2 separate regions of the Homo sapiens genome follow, and region 2 is linked to region 1. The links are contacts of gene promoters, found by promoter capture Hi-C in blood cells and fetal thymus (Javierre and others, 2016). All regions are on one chromosome and are shown on one strand. The core of a region is centred on a gene start or on the middle of the fragment in contact, and the rest is flanking DNA. Distances in the headings are between cores, read along the strand shown.

Region 1 (6,998 bases), core at 516-3,015:
CTACAAGTTTTGGATTTCTGAGAAAGAAGAGCAGCTTGACATTTTTAAGAAAGTAATAAACATTTTGACATACTTTAAAACTTCTTGTTCAAGCAAGCTTTTTCTCACTAAGTTTTAAGAGTAAAGACAAAAATCATCTCATTTCAGTTGAAAATGCAATCTGTGTGTGACAATCTCAAGTTCAATTCAGAATTGAGCAAATACACAGCAAAAGATAAGCAAAGGTTTCATACTAAATAGGTAATTTTCATTTTTTGTTTCAAAAATAATACACTTATATAGGCCCATAAAAAGACCAACATTCGTTAAAATCAAATTGCAGCATTTACTAAACTAAAAGAAAAAGAACAAGTAAAGTTTCCTCTCTCACTTATTTTGTTTTTTGTTTGTTTTGAGACCAAGCCTTGCTCTGTCGTCCAGGCTGGAGTGCAGTGGCGTGATCTCGGCTCACGGCAACCTCCGCCTCCCGGGTTCAAGCGATTCTCCTGCCTCAGCCTCCCGAGTAGCTGCGATTACAGGCGTGTGCCACCATGCCCGGCTGATTTTTGTATTTTTAGTAGAGAAGGGGTTTCACCGTATTGGCCAGGCTGGTCTCGAACTCCTGATCTCAAGTGATCCATCTGCCTTGGCCTCCCAAAGTGCTGGGATTACAGGCGTGAGCCACCACGCCCCGCCTACAAAGGTATTTTAAAATCCCATTTACAATAACCCTCTGAATTAGATAGGTACCAAGTTCCACCCTCTTCTAAACACGAGATCAAATATCAAGGTAAGGTCTCAGAGGGTTTGGGTGTAAAAGACTCCAACCAAATTTAATAAATGGGAAGTCATTACCTTTATTTGTGAGAGAAGCTTTGGAGAATGTGGGGGAAGCTGATGTCAAATATAAAGGGCTTAAAGAGAGAAGAGGGAGAGGAGCTTTCAGCACAGTCCAGTTCACAGCCCGTCGGTGCTCAAAACATACTTGAATACCTGGTACAAAAGATAAAAATGATGGTTTGGTTTTCTATAAGACAGCATAGTTTCTTTAAAATTACACACACACATGCATTGCTTTTCTTCCTTTAATTAGTTGAGACCATAGGACAAAAGAAGAGGCATAGTTGAGCGCGTAATGGTGCGAAAATCAAAAGGTTGGGAAGAAACAAGAAACTCAGATAAACGCTTCCGTCGGCTGTGACAGGTTCTGAGGCGCCCAGATCTACTGGACATAGCGCGGCTCAGAAGCCTCAGAGACCTGTCCGCACAGTTCCTGAAGTTAGCAACAAATTAGTGAGTGCTGTTGCGGGCCATTTTGCAGCCAGAGAAGCAAATGCGCAAATGCGCCCAGCCAGTCAGCACGGACTTCAAGAACCAACTTCATTCCTTGCAAGGTGCTTTAGTTCTGGCCGTTAGGGCGGCAACCAAACAGAAACCTGCCCCGCCTCTGGGAGAGAAGGCGGATCCCTAACGCCAGCTATCTCCAAGAGCAACATTGCCGCAGCACTTCCGGGACGTCGTGCTGCAAAGGACGCCGCTGTTATACGTCACTTCCACGGCTCAGCGTCAGGCAAGTTGGCCTCTCTGTTGTAAATTAGTGGTTAAGGTTATCTATTATTGCCACTTTTCCAGCGCTAAAGGCTGTTTTGGAACCAGTGTTGCTTGTTCCGCGGGTGATTGGCTTTTTTTTTTGGCAAACCAGTTATTCAAGTTTCTGGTCTTTAAAAAACTCTGTGGCGGTACGGTAACCGAGGAGGTTCCAGCGCGGCGGAAGTACCCCGCGGGTGGGTGTGTGCGCAAGGCCAGGGCCAGAGGGGCACGTGGCGCCGGTGAGTGGCCGTAGAAGCCGGAGGATTTGAAAATGCTGGACGTGGAACCCAACTGCCGGAGGGAGGGAGGAAGGAAGGGGATGCGGTGCGAAGACCTTGCTGTCTGTAGGGGGAGGAGATACTAATCATGGGGCGGCAAGGGTGGTGTGTGGTCGGTCGGCGCTCACGAGACCATGGAGAAGTAAACTCTTCACCCATCAGGTTGGTGGTCACTGGCTGTCTGACCGTGGGTGAGGTGACAGGGCTGCTTTTGTCTCCTTTATGGTGTTCTCACCGCAGCTCCGAGGGGTTGGAGTATACTCAGAGGCTACAGTGATCAGAAGACATAGGTCGTTTTTTTTTCATCAGGGAGGAGAGAGAATGTCTTTTCGAGGCGGAGGTCGTGGAGGCTTTAATCGAGGTGGTGGAGGTGGCGGCTTCAACCGAGGTGGCAGCAGCAACCACTTCCGAGGTGGAGGCGGCGGTGGAGGCGGCGGCAATTTCAGAGGCGGCGGCAGGGGAGGATTTGGACGAGGGGGTGGCCGCGGAGGCTTTAACAAAGGCCAAGACCAAGGACCTCCAGAACGTGTAGTCTGTATGCAGTCTTCAGTATTTAGCTTATTTGAAGGAGTAGGTGTGGGTTGGGGGTTTGTGTTGTTAGGCAGCAAGTTTGGGATACACAAGCCTGTGTGGAGAATGTAGCATGTAAGGGTGGAGTGGGGAGATCAAGAAAGCTGAGGGATACTTAGAATGCATCTTGGAGGTGGAACTTGAGGGTTGACAGGAAGATATTAAATAGGTAATCGTGAGTACTTATGCCTAATTCCCCGATTTTACAGATGAGAAAACTATGATTTAGAGTTAAGTTTTTTTGCTGGGGTCATAAGGTTAGTGATAAGTGATCAATTAGTGATATAGCTGAAATACAGGCTGGGTGCGGTGGCTCACGCCTGTAATCCCAACACTTTGGGAAGCTAAGACGGGAGGATCTTTTGAAGCCGGGAGTTAGAGACCAGCCTGGATAATAAAGCAGGAGACCCTGTCTGTACAGAAAAGAAAGAAATACAAAGCCAAGTATTCTGACTCCAAAGCCCATGCTTTCTGTTACTACTCAAAAGTAGATAAGTGAGAAAACAATTTGCTTGAGAGGGAAACTGCCAGAGAGGAAATCTAGAAAAACACCTATTTAGGGTAGTTTTAGAGTAATTAACAATGAGATGGGAATGGAAGTCACAGAAAGTGAAACTTACTACATTAAAGAGGAGAGAGGGTGAGTAGTGTCTAACTAAGAATGGCTTGGATGAGTATGCAGGATGGTTTGAAAGGAGCAGTTTCTAGAATAAAAGGTCCCAGCCCACAAGCTGTTGTACCAGTCCATACATGAGACCTTGAGAGCCTGAATCAGGATGGTGACAGTGAGGAAAAAAAAGGAAGGGTTAGATAGGAGAGAGATTTCAAAGGAAACAAAATCGGTAGAACTTAGCTAATGCTGATAATAAAGGGTTCCAGGTTTTGAGCTTGGGTGATAGGAATGAAGACTTGGTTTTGCAGGAATGTGGTATTTTAGTTTGGGGTGACAGTCTAGTTAGAAATAAAGGTAGTTATTTTGAGATTCCAGATGTCCTTGAAAACAATGAATCATTGTTAAAGAGGTGGTAGTGGGAATGGAAAAGTTCTAAGGCAAGAGAAAAAAAAAAAGAATGAAGGCTGATTCTGTTAGGCATTGAAGAAAAGGGAGAACCAAGAGAATGAAGCAGAGTTTTGAATCAGATAATAAGTTGTAATAACATAACTGTTACAGGTTGAATGGTGTCAGTGTGCCAGGCACTGTTCTAAGCACTTGACATTTGTTATTCCATTGAGTGCTTACATTACTGTATATTAGGTATAGCTATACATTATATGTTATTAGTGCATACTAAAAATGAGACACTGAATTAGAGAGAGGGTGGGTAACTTCTCCTAGGTCAAATAGCTAGTGTGTTGTGGAGTTGGTATACCAGCCCAGGAAGTCCTAAGACTGTGGTCTTCTGCCTCAGAGGAGAGCAGTTATGGTGAAGTCCCAGGTAGCCAAAAAGAAAGCTTCCAGAAGCAGTTGGTCAGTATCGTTTGAAATAGTTCTATGTTTTAACATTTTCTTGTCCTGTTTCAGTATTAGGAGAGTTCCTGCATCCCTGTGAAGATGACATAGTTTGTAAATGTACCACAGATGAAAATAAGGTGCCTTATTTCAATGCTCCTGTTTACTTAGAAAACAAAGAACAAATTGGAAAAGTGGATGAAATATTTGGACAACTCAGAGATTTTGTATCCTTTTTCATTGGAAGGCCTGATAATATTCAAAGGTTGCTATTTGCATTTTTCTGAGGAGGCAGTTAAGTATAAATTAAAGTTGTTGCTTCATTAAATTAGACAGGATTGCTACAGATTGGACCATGAAGGAGAATCAAGGGGAGAATGTATTCATCCATAGATATTAAAATGACAGACCCTAGAACGGTGACTTTTTTTTTGGAAAATTCTATTAATGATGGCCATTTGGATAAGTACTACAGGATTAAGTTGGCTGATTTGGATGTAGTGGTGCCACTGGAAATGTAGAATTAGAAGTTGTTTGGTGCCCCCACTACTCTGGAAACTCCTTCCTTCCTTTCTCTCTCTCTCTTTTTCTCTTTCTCTCTTTCTTTCTTTCTCTCTCTTTCTCTCTCTCTTTCTTTCTCTCTCTTGCTCTTTCCCTGCCTTCTTCCCTCCCTCCCTTCCTCCCTTCCTTCCTTTCTTTTTTCCTTTTTTTTTTTTTTTTTGACAGAGACTCACTCTGTTGCCCAGGGTGGAGTGCAGTGGCACGATCTCATCTCACTACAACCTCCGCCTCCTGGGTTCGAGCAATTCTCGTGCCTCAGCCTTTCAAGTAGCTGAGATTACAGGTGAGCGCCACCATGCCCGGCTGATTTTTGTATTTTTGGTGGAGGTGGGGTTTCACCATGTTGGCCAGGATGGTCTCAAACTCCTGGCCTCAAGTGATCCATCCGCCTTGGCCCCCCGAAGTGCTGGGTTTGCAGGTGTGAGCCACCACGCCCAGCCCCTGGAAATTCATTTCTTATCTTTCCTATATATATCCATACATTCTAACCTTGTTTTTGAAATTATACATGAATTCAGAACATTTGATATCATCTTTCATCTTAATTGCTCATTTGTTCCTTAATGAAAATAATAGTATTTTTCAGTTAAGTTGTCAGAAAACATGAAGGCTTCATCCTTTAAAAAACTACAGAAGGTGAGTCAAACTTATGATACTTGGGATCCTTGGTTTTATAAGGGAACGACCTATCTTAGGAAAGTCCTACTTGGAGCACTTGAGACTTTCCCAACATATCACTAGTAAAGCTCTTAAATTGAAATGTTCCATGCTATAAATATTGAACACACTAATCTTTAAAAGTGATTTATTTGATACAGCCTTTAGAAAGTAAAAATTACAACTTTTGCTCATATTACCAAAATCTGTAAACTGCTAGAGTAAGAGTTTTTTGTTTATGTAAAACTCTCTTATTGAAAAGCTTTCATGACCAAACATTCTAGGTAGAATCTTAATTTGTAAAACTTACGTTATTTGAGAGGCGGTAGGTACTAAGTGATTTCACAAGAACTTCAATAACATGATATATGCTATGAAGGAAAAATACAGGTTGCCATGAGAAGCTTTGTAGTGCCACCAGCTTTTTAAGTCTGTAGTGTTTCCTGAAAAAGTGAGCTTGAAGCTGAGGCCTGATTGTTGACTAACAGTGATTTCCACACCTGGTTGCATGTCAGAGTTATCTTGGGGAGCTTTTAAGAAGATGTATCTCTAGTTTCCACTTCTGGAAATTTGACCTAGGAGCTCTTAAGTAGCGTCCAGGATTCAATTTTAAAAAGGAAAAGCACTTGGATAATTTTGATGTAGTTAGTCAAACACTTGAGAGCTGCTGAGCTAGTCAAAGAGGAAGAGGAAAGTGCATTCCAAGTAGAGAAAACAGTATGTGCAGTCTCTGAGAGCAGGCAACTGAAAGGATACAAAAAGGCAGACATATAGGTTAGGAATGAAACATTTAGGAGAGGTGGGGAAAGTTGTGAATTAAGACCAGAGAGGTAGGAGGGGGCTTGATTAACTTAAGCCTTCAGGTGACAGGAAAGAGTTTAGACCTTAGTTTCAATTGTGTTTTATTTTTGAATAATGGGATAACACAGTTAAATGAATGCTTCAAAAGAATACTGGGAAGATAAAAAGGCACCTTGGGAAGCGGTCAATATTGTGTGAGAGGGGCCAGATAGGAGGCTATAATAGTAGTTCTAAAAGAGATGGTATTTTGGACTCGGTAGTGACAGTGGAAATGGAAAAAATGGATTTATGAAAGATACAGGAAGTAGAATCAATAGGACTTGGTAATTGACTAGCTATTGAAATTGAAGAAGTAAAAAAATCACCATCTTTCAGATGTCTGACATCAACATCTTTGTGGGTGATGGTACCAATTAATGAAATGGGCAACAATGCAGAGGAGGGGGATTGGGGGAAGATAATGAGTTGGGTTTTGGACATAGTGAGGTTGAGGTACTTGTGAGACAGTCATGGTCAGTTTAAAGGAAGAGTCTAGACTGGAAATAGAATTGGGAATTTGTTAAGTATACAGACAGTACATGAAACATTGTAGGAAGAAAGAATGAAAGGAAAAGAGCACCTATGAAGAGTTTTGGGGCACCTCCTAAAACTAAAGGTCTGGTAGTGGAAACTCAGAAGTAATTGCCAGTTAAAAAAAAAAAGGCAAACCACAAGCCTGTCATAAAAGTGGTATCACAAAAATTGAAAGAGTGTTTCCAGGAGGGACTGCTCAGCTATGGCAAAAGGCTGCAAAGTGTTCATTGGAAGACAGCCACATAGACATCAGGGAGTCATGGAGCCAGTGCATTGGTGGGCCCGGGAGCCAGAATGGATTAGGAAATGAGAGGGAGACAATAGCTTGTTGTCAGCATATGGCTACTAGTTGTAGAAACCTTGGCAAGTACTCAGGGGATTGACTGCTTCTGGCGTGCCTGGAGCTGTTGAGCCCAGAAAGAAACAATGCTGAAAAGGGATTCTCATCTTGTGACCTGAAAAAAAAATGCTGGTAATAGCCACTTAAATTCATCAGAATCCCTTAAATCACTTAAATTTCTCAGAATTATTTATTTGGG
Region 2 (4,107 bases), core at 1-2,500, 4.1 Mb before region 1:
TTCTGTGTTTCAGTAGATGGCCTCACCTACTTCACAAAGAGAGGCTGTCAGAGAGGAATTAAGTCGACTTCCTTCCAGCACATCTACAAACTTACCTGCACTCATCCTTTCCTCTTTCCCATCTGATAAAAAAGGAGAAGGTAGCTCTCTATGTAGTGTCACCTGGATCTGGATCCTATCTCTTCTTGTCCCCTCTTGAACCTTGGCCTATGGATTATTTCCCATATCTTCTTTTTTTTTTTTTCAGCCTTTCTACTGGCATCTTTTCATTGACATTAAATATATTCAAACATCTTCTATCTTTTCTCTTTTATAGCAAAACGTTCTCAGAAATCATATGCTTTTGTACTCTTTTTCTTCATTCCTTCTATTTACACAGCAATTCTTGCAATTCAGCCTTTGTCCCACTATTCCATGAAAATGCTCTCATGAGTCATTCGCCGCCTCAGTCAGGTAAACCTAATACATACGATTGTCCCTCCTACTTCTTTGTCAGTCATCTTTGTAGGTTCCTCCTATCCAATTAAAAATGAGTTCCTCAGTGCTAGGTTCTGGGTCTCTTCTTGACTTGTTCTACATCTTCTTCCAAAAATGTGTTCTCTGAGTCAGCAGCATAGGTATCACGTCAGAACTTAGAAATACAAACTCTTGGTCTCCATTCCTAGGCCTACTGAAGAAAAAACTCTGGGAGTAGGGTCTAGAAATCTGTGTTAAGCCTTCCAGGCAATTCTATCTACTCTAAAGTTTGGGAATTATTGCCCTAGACAATTTGATCTATATAGTCTTTTGCCAGTGATTACTAATACATCTCTGCAGTCCATGTGTCTCTCCCAAGATCCAACTGCCAGCTTGACATGGATATATCATTGGTGCCTCCTATGCAACGTGTCTCCAACAGAGCCACTCATACACTATTCCCTTTTCTCCTAACCAGTTCTTCCTCTAGTAATCCCTTTTTCAAATGATATTTACCCTATTGCCCAAGCCAGTAACCCAGAAGCAGCTTTAACTCTTCCCACTTCCTTAATTCCCACCCCCAATTCAATAACCAAACCTCTTAAACATACCTCAAATCTATCCACCCTTTTCAATCCTTACTACTACCACCCTAGACCAACCTAGCATCATCTATTATCTGGCCCACTGCAAAAGCTTAATCAGTCTCCCACAATCACTCTTGTCATCCCTTTAAACCTTTTCATATCACTCACTTGCTTAAAATCCTTTTATCACTTCTCACAATCCAAAGGTTCAAGAATAAGATTCTTAACAAGGTCTCCAATTCTCTACATCAGGGGTCCCTAACCTTCAGGCCATGCAGCAGGAGGTGAGCAGTAGGCAAGCGAGGGAAGCTTCATTTGTATTTACAGCCACTCCCATCACTTGCATTACTACCTGAGCTCTGCCTCCTGTCACATCACTGGTGGAATTAGATTCTCATAGGAATGCGAATCCTATGTGAACTGTGCATGTGTGTGATCTACGTTGTGTGCTCCTCATGAGAATCTAATGCCTGATGATCTGTCACAGTATACCCCATCATCCCCAGATGAAACCGTCTAGCTGCAGGAAAGCAAGCTCAAGGTTCCCACTGATTCTACATTATGGTGAGTTGTCCAATTATTTTATTATATATTACCATGTAGTAATAAGAGAAATAAAGTGCACAATAAATGTAATGCACTTGAATCATCCTGAAACCATGTCTTCAATGAAACTGGTCCCTGGTGCCAAAAAGGTTGTGGACCATTGCTCTACATGATTAATAATACATATAAAGCAGTTACAACAGTACCTGACACATAGTTGACACTCATTAAATGTTACCTAGTATCTTAGGCCATTCTCACTCTCTCTGTTATAGCTATCTGACTTATTTCAAGTCCTCCAATATACTCTTTCTTACCTTAGCACTTCAGTAGAAAGTGTGCCACCCCCACCTCCATCTTAAGTCACCTCTCAAGTTTCAGTTTTTCCTGCACATTCCCTCAACAAAACTAGAAGTTTCACTGTTACATAGCCCAAAAACATTCTGTACTTATTTGTAATATTAATCACACTGTTAATTATGTAAATAATCTTTCTTTCTCATTAGAATGTAAGTTCCATGAAGGCAGGCAGTGGATTGGTCTTGCCTACTGTTGTAACCCCTGTCTGGCAGAGTTCCTGGAAAACAGCAAATAACTGTAAATGTTGGCCAAGTAAATACTTGTTATCTACTTCCAATTTCATAAAACTTTCTCTTCCCTTGAGTTCTGTTATACTCAACTTTTCTGTTTTTCCTCTTCTATCTCTGACTACTCTTTCTTTGGCTTATCTTCTTTGTTGCTTTTGGTATTGTCCAAGTATTTGTCCTTGGCTATCTTCTTAGTTCTGCTAGCAGTTTCTTCTTGGTAATCTTATACACATCAGGTTTTCAACTATCATCTCTGGGTAGATGATTTAATATGTTTTACCCCAACTTCAATCTCTTTTTTTTTTTTTTTTTTTTTGAGACATGGTCTTGCTCTGTCACCCAGGTTGGAGTGCACTGAGATCATGGCTCACTGCAGCCTCGAACTCCTGGGCTCAAGTGATCCTCCTGCCTCAGCCTCCCAAGCAGCTAGGACTACAGGCATGCACCACCGTAACCATGCCCAGGTAATTTTGTTGTTTTTTAAGTAGAGCCAGGGTCTTGCTATGTTGCTCTTATCTGGTCTCAAACAATCCTCCTGTTGTGGCTTCCCAAAGTGCTGGGATTACAAGTGCGAGCCAAATCTCTTAAATTTGAATCCCATGTTTCCAAATGCTTAGTGTATGTGTCTATGTGATTCCTTAATGGCATCTCAAATTCAGTTACAACTAAAATTGAGATTCTGATTATCTTCCCGAAAAGTTCCTTGTCCTGCTCTTACTTTCAATAAATGACACAACTTTCTTTTAGTCAGGTTTGAGACCAAAGTCTTTCCTTCACTGAGTCTTTCCCTACTCCTTATATTCAAATAATCAGAATTCCTGTGGATTCTGACGGCAATATTTTTCACACTTGTCCTACTTTTCACTTCCACTGCTACTACTGAAATTCAGGTTTTATTAGCTTACTTGAACTATGGCAATAACCTCGTTATTTTCCTTGACTTCAACATTGTTGCCATATGAATTTTCCTGAAACCCAGTTTTCTTCTTTTTCATTAAAATAAAAAAAAAAATTCTTGCTGAGAAGTTAGGGCTTTCTACCACCTTCGAAATAAAGACCAAATTTCTTGGCCTAGCATTTAAGAAGATTCAGTAACTGGCACAAAAATTATCATTCATCATCCCCAGATCTGCCTTATAGCTAGCTGACCCTGCCACTCTTATTTTTTTTGTCCAGGAAGCTCTTTACCTATTTTTATATATCTACATCCTATCAAGACCCTATTCAAATACTTCTCATGAAGATTTGACTGACAGCTGCTGTGCCCCTCTCCATTCCAAACCCTATTAATAGTCTCTCCATTCAAGGATATCTCATAGTGCTTTTTCATGGTATTGCAACTTTCTCCCTTGAAGCATTTTTTTTTTTTTTTGGCACAAGTGTTATGTCCCCTACAAAACTCTGAGTACTTTAAGGGCAGAGTCTATATTTATCTTTTTGCCTATCTCTTTGCCACTTTGCAAAGTACAACAAAATAATGGCTATAGAATTACTGGAATTAAGTGATCAAAGTATAGTGGTCTTATCTCTCCTTCTACACAATTGTAGCCATTTCCAAGGTCCCTTCAGCAAAAATCACAAAAGTAACTCACCCCTGCCCCCACAAAAAAAACTCCAAACATCAAAAAAGCAAAAGCAAAGCAATCACCTCTTTCACGACTGGGGACTTGTAGTACAATGTTCCTATCTGTAAAATTCTCACAATCTTTCGCCTGTCTTGCTTAATTCATTAATCCCACTGGTCTGTAAACTTGATGACAGCAGGAACTTGTTTTGTTCACTGTTATTTCCCTAGTGCTTGAAACTTAATAAGGGCTCAAAAATATTTATCGAATGAACGAACTAGGTTTTTTGCGTAAATGTCACCTTATAAGGCTTCTGTGATCTCTCCAGTCTAAATTGGGCATTCATATATAAATATAAGTATGTGC

The links. The method cuts DNA at HindIII sites, captures the fragments that hold promoters and counts their contacts. A CHiCAGO score of 5 or more calls a contact.
Region 2: a fragment that was not itself captured here is called in contact with the fragment with the promoter of GAR1 in region 1 in 1 of 17 cell types (total B cells); the score reaches 7.7 in total B cells.

What each region holds. Positions count from the first base shown.
Region 1 is chr4:109,813,997-109,820,994 of GRCh38, forward strand. It overlaps GAR1 (GAR1 ribonucleoprotein), which reads left to right and starts at 1,766. Exons shown (of 7, transcript NM_018983.4): 1 at 1,766-1,808; 2 at 2,157-2,382; 3 at 3,940-4,094; 4 at 5,005-5,064. The coding sequence starts at 2,169. It overlaps GAR1-DT (GAR1 divergent transcript), which reads right to left and starts at 1,386. Exons shown (of 2, transcript NR_186620.1): 1 at 835-1,386. RefSeq lists enhancers at 1,142-1,241, 1,412-1,811, 1,822-1,871, 2,222-2,271, 2,442-2,511. The HindIII fragment of the contact is 3,017 bases long and covers 851-3,867 here.
Region 2 is chr4:105,703,784-105,707,890 of GRCh38, forward strand. INTS12 (integrator complex subunit 12) reads right to left here. Exons shown (of 8, transcript NM_020395.4): 2 at 1-26. It overlaps LOC124900748 (a long non-coding RNA gene), which reads left to right. Exons shown (of 3, transcript XR_007058215.1): 2 at 1,531-1,607; 3 at 2,096-2,191. LOC124900747 (a long non-coding RNA gene) reads left to right here and starts at 2,599. Exons shown (of 2, transcript XR_007058214.1): 1 at 2,599-2,640. The HindIII fragment of the contact is 200 bases long and covers 1,151-1,350 here.